Linked DNA regions of Homo sapiens: region 1 is linked to region 2. Evidence: promoter capture Hi-C in 16 types of primary human blood cells and fetal thymus (Javierre and others, 2016). All regions are on one chromosome and are shown on one strand. Each heading gives the region's core, a stretch centred on a gene start or on the middle of the fragment in contact. The rest is flanking DNA. Distances are from core to core; before and after follow the strand shown. Region 1 overlaps UGT3A1 (UDP glycosyltransferase family 3 member A1). Region 2 holds the start of AGXT2 (alanine--glyoxylate aminotransferase 2).

Region 1 (2,700 bases), core at 39-2,538, 910 kb after region 2:
TCCATTACTAAAAATGGGGTATCGAAGTCCCAAGCTATTGCTGTAGTAATGTCTATTTCATCCTCAATTCCATCAATTATTGCTTCACATATTTTGGTGCTCTGTTGTTTGGTGCATATATATTTATAGCTCTTATATATTGTTGATGATATTTCATATATTATTTTTAAATGATACTTATAATATTATAATTATGTGAATGCAAACATAAAATTTTATATTGTGTAATGCCTTTCTTTGTCTCTTGTAAATATTTTTGACATATAGTCTATTTTGTCTGATATTTGCATAGCTACCTAGCCTATTTTTGTCCTCAGGTAATTCTTAAGAAAGATTATGATCTAATGCCCTAAAACTTAGCTCTAGCACTGTTTCATCAATTATTACTTCCAAACATTTCTTCAGACTCTTCCTCTCTCAGCATTTTTGTGACTGTCTCTAGTCCTGAGCCCCTCATTCTACTGGGTCATTGTGTAGGATAACTTGATTCCATCCAGCATAACACTGCCTGAACTACCATCTCAATTAACAAACTGAAAACAGCTTTGTTGTTCTTGTAATTATAAAATCATTATATAAAATCAAAAGAAGCAGAGCAATAATGTTAATCAGCAGCCGCATGCCCTTGTTCTTTCAGAGAAACATTTGAAAATCAACTGGAGACTGACTCAAATGACTCCGTAGAGTTTTGAAAACCAGTCAAAGATACACAGCAAGCAACCAAATGCCCAATCAAGAAAAAGCCACTTTCAAACAGTATAAATTTCTAATCCATTTTATTTACCTTTGCCCTGGAGTGGCAGACCACAGTCCACAGGCAAAAGCTCAATTGTGCATTCTTTCCCTCAGCCAGAAGGAGCAGAATAGAAACTATTTACAACATTCTAACCTGTCTGTTGGCTACTTAGTGACTGGTTTGTCTCACCTAATTCAGAGCTCACACTGGGAATGGTGACATAGCTCAGATTTCAAGCTGACAGAAGTCATAGAAAGCAGTGGTAGGTACCATGACGTATGAAAGCTTAAGGGATACTGCAGACCTATGAAGGCTTGGGTCAAGAAGTTATGGACAGAAGAATATAATAGAACATCTAAAGTCCAAGAAGAGTCTGGGCGAGGTTCATTGGGAAATTAAGGCATTCAAAAACAGTTGAGCATACAGAGGGAATTGGAGGAAGAAAAGCACACACAAAAGTCCAGATGAGACACATAACCAAAAAATACCTGAGAAGACCTTAATCTTGATCAAAACACTCAAAACATGCTCTTCCATGCCAGACTGCAAAGACTGACAGAAGTAACTAATTGTTCAAATGTCCAATTTTCAACAAAAGATCACAAGGCATACAAAGAAATAGTCAAAATGCATAATTTTGAAAAACAAAATAAATATCCAGAAACCCTTCCTAAAGAAACACAGGCATTGGACTTACTACACAAATATTTTTAAAGAAACTCTCTTAAATATGCCCAAGGAGCTCATGGAAAACATGGGAAAAAAACTAAAGTAAACAAGAAAAACAATATGTAAACACATTTAGAATATCAACAAAGAGAAAGCTTTCAATTTAAAACAGGAAATTTTTGGAGCTCAAATATGAAATCATTAAATTGAATTTTTTTCTCGTGGGCAAAAGAAATAATCAGTGAACTTGAAGACAAATTATTTGAAATTGTCAAGTCTGAGAAAGAAAAAGAAAAAAAGAATGAACAAAATGTAAGGGACAATAGGACATTATCATGTGGATCAATATGTGCACTACGAGAGAAAATGAAAGGGAAAGAAAGGCTATTTGAAGAAATAATGGCAGATAACATGATTCTATATATGTAAAACTTTAAAAATAACATACACACACACACACTAAAGATTAAAAATCTATTAGAACTAATAAACAAATTCAGCAAAGTCGAAGGAAAAAAGTCAAGTCTCCAAAGTCAGCTGCATTTCCATACACTAACAATGAACAAATCAAAAAAGAAATTAGGAAAACAATTTCAACAATAATATCAGAGAGAATAAAATAAACTTAACCAAGGAGGTGAAAGATTTTACATTTAAAACATGAACATTTTGCTGAAAGAAAGTAGACACACACACAAAAATGGAAAGGCATTCTGGCTTCATGAATTGGGACACTTATTAAGATGTCAAATATGTACAATCCAAAGGGATGTACATATTCTATACAAACCCTATCAAAATCCCAATAACTTCTTTTGCAACAGAAAAATCATTCTAAAATGTGTAAGAAATATCAAGAACCCTGAATATTCAAAATAATATTGAAAAAGAGCAGAGAAGAAGTTCTCACAATTGCTGATTTCAAAACATATTACAAAGTTACAGTAATCCAAGTAGTGTAGTACTGCCATAAAGATAGACACATGGACCAGTGGAATAGAAGACTGAGCCCGGAAATAGACTTTTGCATTATGGTCAAATAAATTTTGATGACAGTGAAATGGGAAAGTTCCCTGACCCCCCCTCACAGGGTATGTGACAAGGGTGTGGCTTGTCAGTTTGGCCGCAGCCTCCGCTGCTGCTCAAACTCCTTACAGAAGGGGGAGCATGCAGACGGGCAGGTGCATGAGCCTGGGTGAGTGCTTTGGGGCTCTGGCCCCACAGCAGTATATAAGGGTGGGTGCCTGCAACTCCTAAAGCCCACGTGAGCATGGTGTGTGTTACAGTGCACTCTT
Region 2 (2,700 bases), core at 111-2,610:
GTACTCACTAACAAGTTTGGTTGAAGATAAAAGGAGATAATGCATTTAAAGCATCATGCATGTGTCAAGTTTCAAAAAACTGCAATTTTCAGGGGTAAGAAAGCGAAGAGGAGAGGAAGGAAGGAGGGTGAAAGGGAAATATGAGGAGAAAATGAAGGCAAAGTTGGTCACAATGGGGAATGTAAAATGGTCCCCTGTACCTGTTTACGGCCCGTGAAGCACAGGCACATAAATGTACAGACAGTTGCTTAATCTCATGTTTGCATGAGGGAATTTGCTGAGGAGGAGGTGAGGCTCTCGTGAAACAAGATCCATGTGAAAATCACAAGCATATAGGATATTACTCATAAAGCCACCAATGTCTGGTTACCCCACATCTCCTCATATTTTCTGTTCTTGCTGCAGAGAGGAGAGTCTGAGTAGATGGGGAGGGCCTGGGGTCAAGCCCTGGCTTGGATGACTCTGGGTGAATCACAGCACTTGTTGGCAATTGAGAGCGTGGTCTCACTTCCTAGAGGCATGATGAAAATTCATGCAGATGCTTTACATCTTTTAAAATAGTCATCCTAGCCTGGTGCAATGGCTTAGGCCTGCAATCCGAGCACTTTGAAAGACTGAAGTGAGAGGATTGCTTGAGCCCGGGAGTTCGAGACCAACTTGAGCAACATAGTAAAACCCCATGTCTACAAAAGTTAAAAAAGAAAAATAGCTAGGCATGGTGGCATGTGCCTATAGTTCCAGCTACTCAGGAGGCTGAGGTGGGAGAATTATTTGAGCCTTGGAGGTCAAGGCTGCAGTGAACCATGATCACACCACTGTACTCCAACCTAGGTGACAGAGGGAGACCCTGTCTCAAAAAAGAAAAAATAGAAATCATCCTTGGGCATCTGTAAATTGAAGTCACACTCTATTTTGATTGCTTTCCTTTGGTTTTTAAAAATATTGAAGCTGAGATAGCATGTCATGTTGAAATTGTGTATAGTCGGGTTTCATTATCCACGAATTTCATTTCAAAACAAAAAGGAGCATTACAAAATATTGGCTATGAAAATGGGGCATTGACTCAGGGTGAGAACCTGTGTGTCAAAAACATGCCTCATCTCTAAGACCTCACCCAGGTCTAACATTCCAGAATCCCAGGCAGCAGCCTTCGGAGCTCAAGTCTTACCCTCTCGCTGATCCTCTACTGACCCACGTCCCCCTGGTTTCCACTTACGGCTCAGGAAAGGATGCATCTCAAGGATCCTGGGAGCGGAAGTGACCAGGCACAAGGGTCTCAGCAAATGTCTCCAGATTAGAGTCATTTCTCCCACTCAGAAAGCCAACCCCCATGGAAGCAGATTGGAGGCCGGGCTCTAACTGCTCACTATCCTGCTGGACTTTGAGATTAAGATGGGGAGGAGGCGCTAAAAGGGGAATCCTGGAGTGGTGACTGCCCATGGCTTCAGGCAAGCCCCAGAGCTCTCTATTTCTAGTAACAGTGCCTTCAAGGGGGAGAAAAAGAGAGTGAGGAAAAGAGATAGAATGAAAATAGGAAGGAGAGAGAGAAGAGGAGAGAAAAGAAAGGAAAAGAAGAGAACAGAAGGGAAGAGGAAAGAAAGCAGGCAGATAAAGCAAAGGTCATCTGACAAGTTCTGTTAGTTTAATATTCCATCGGAGTTTCATCCGGGTACACTTTTCTCTGCAGGAGGGTGGTGCTGGGTGTGGGAGAAGGATCAGGACATGGTTGAAGGGGTCGGAGATTGTGAAACGAGGTATGTGACTAAGAGAGGAAAAAGGAAGATATGCATGAAGTGAATGAACAAATAAATTGGTTTTGGGGGTCTTAGAGAAAGAGAGGAGAAAACAATGGGGAAGGAGCCATTCCAAAGAAAAGCTGAGAGTACCAAATAGCTAGGTAAGGTTCTGGACAGCTGTGGATCATCTTATGTGTCTGAGGAAGGCAAAAGGTTGAGAGCTAAGGAGTTAGTGTGCCTTATTTTCATTATTTCTTAAATTCCTATTTATCCCACTCCAGCCTCCCCTTACCTTCAATCCCCATAAGCAAGTATTTAGCATGCTTATATATATCCTTTTGTTGGAACGCATTCTTGTAAAATGTGTATTGTTTAGGGTGAATGCAGTTTTAATTTATGTAAATATGTGTAATATGTCTTTTTTCTTTTCAGTTAGAACCATGTTTTTAAGATCCAACCAGGTTGCGAAGAGTACATCTCTTCTAGGTTTCCCACTGCTTCAGAATGGGGGACCACGTGCTTTACATGGCAGTGCCTAAGGGGGACAGTGACAAAGCTGATTGCAACTAGGGGGTCGAGGGACTGGGGATGGGTAGATATCATTAATCTTGGGTCACCCTGTAAGGGAGACAACTGACTTGGCCACATCCTTCACAAACACCTGCATAACAACCTTTTACTCCAAATGCCCATAGGAGGTGAAGGCACTAGGTAAGCAGAGGGAGTATGTTACATTCAATATAATTGTCCCTTTTTGTGTGGGTTTCCAGCTCCCAGTCAATTCTGCTTTGGGGGCAGTAGGGAGTGATCATATGAGCTGGCTGGTCACGTGCTGCAGGAGTAATCCAAGTCAGTGAGGCCAGTGGACACACAGCATCTCCCTGGGGTGCACAGTCTGTCCTGTGGTTGGACAGAGGGGAGAAAATGTTGAGTTCCTGAATTCTGGTATATGCTCTTCAGCTCT

What was found. Contacts are between HindIII fragments. The CHiCAGO score rates a contact against its expected background, and 5 or more counts as called.
Region 1: a fragment that was not itself captured here is called in contact with the fragment with the promoter of AGXT2 in region 2 in 3 of 17 cell types (total CD8 T cells, erythroblasts and activated CD4 T cells); the score reaches 9.1 in total CD8 T cells.

Annotation. Positions count from the first base shown.
Region 1 is chr5:35,957,947-35,960,646 of GRCh38, forward strand. The region is part of intron 4 of UGT3A1 (UDP glycosyltransferase family 3 member A1); the gene reads right to left. Among named protein-coding and RNA genes, the nearest start is that of CAPSL-DT, 20 kb to the left of the region's middle. The HindIII fragment of the contact is 539 bases long and covers 1,020-1,558 here.
Region 2 is chr5:35,046,589-35,049,288 of GRCh38, forward strand. It overlaps AGXT2 (alanine--glyoxylate aminotransferase 2), which reads right to left and starts at 1,361. Exons shown (of 14, transcript NM_031900.4): 1 at 1,217-1,361. The coding sequence starts at 1,304. It also overlaps a transcript of PRLR not described here. The HindIII fragment of the contact is 8,089 bases long and covers 1-2,700 here.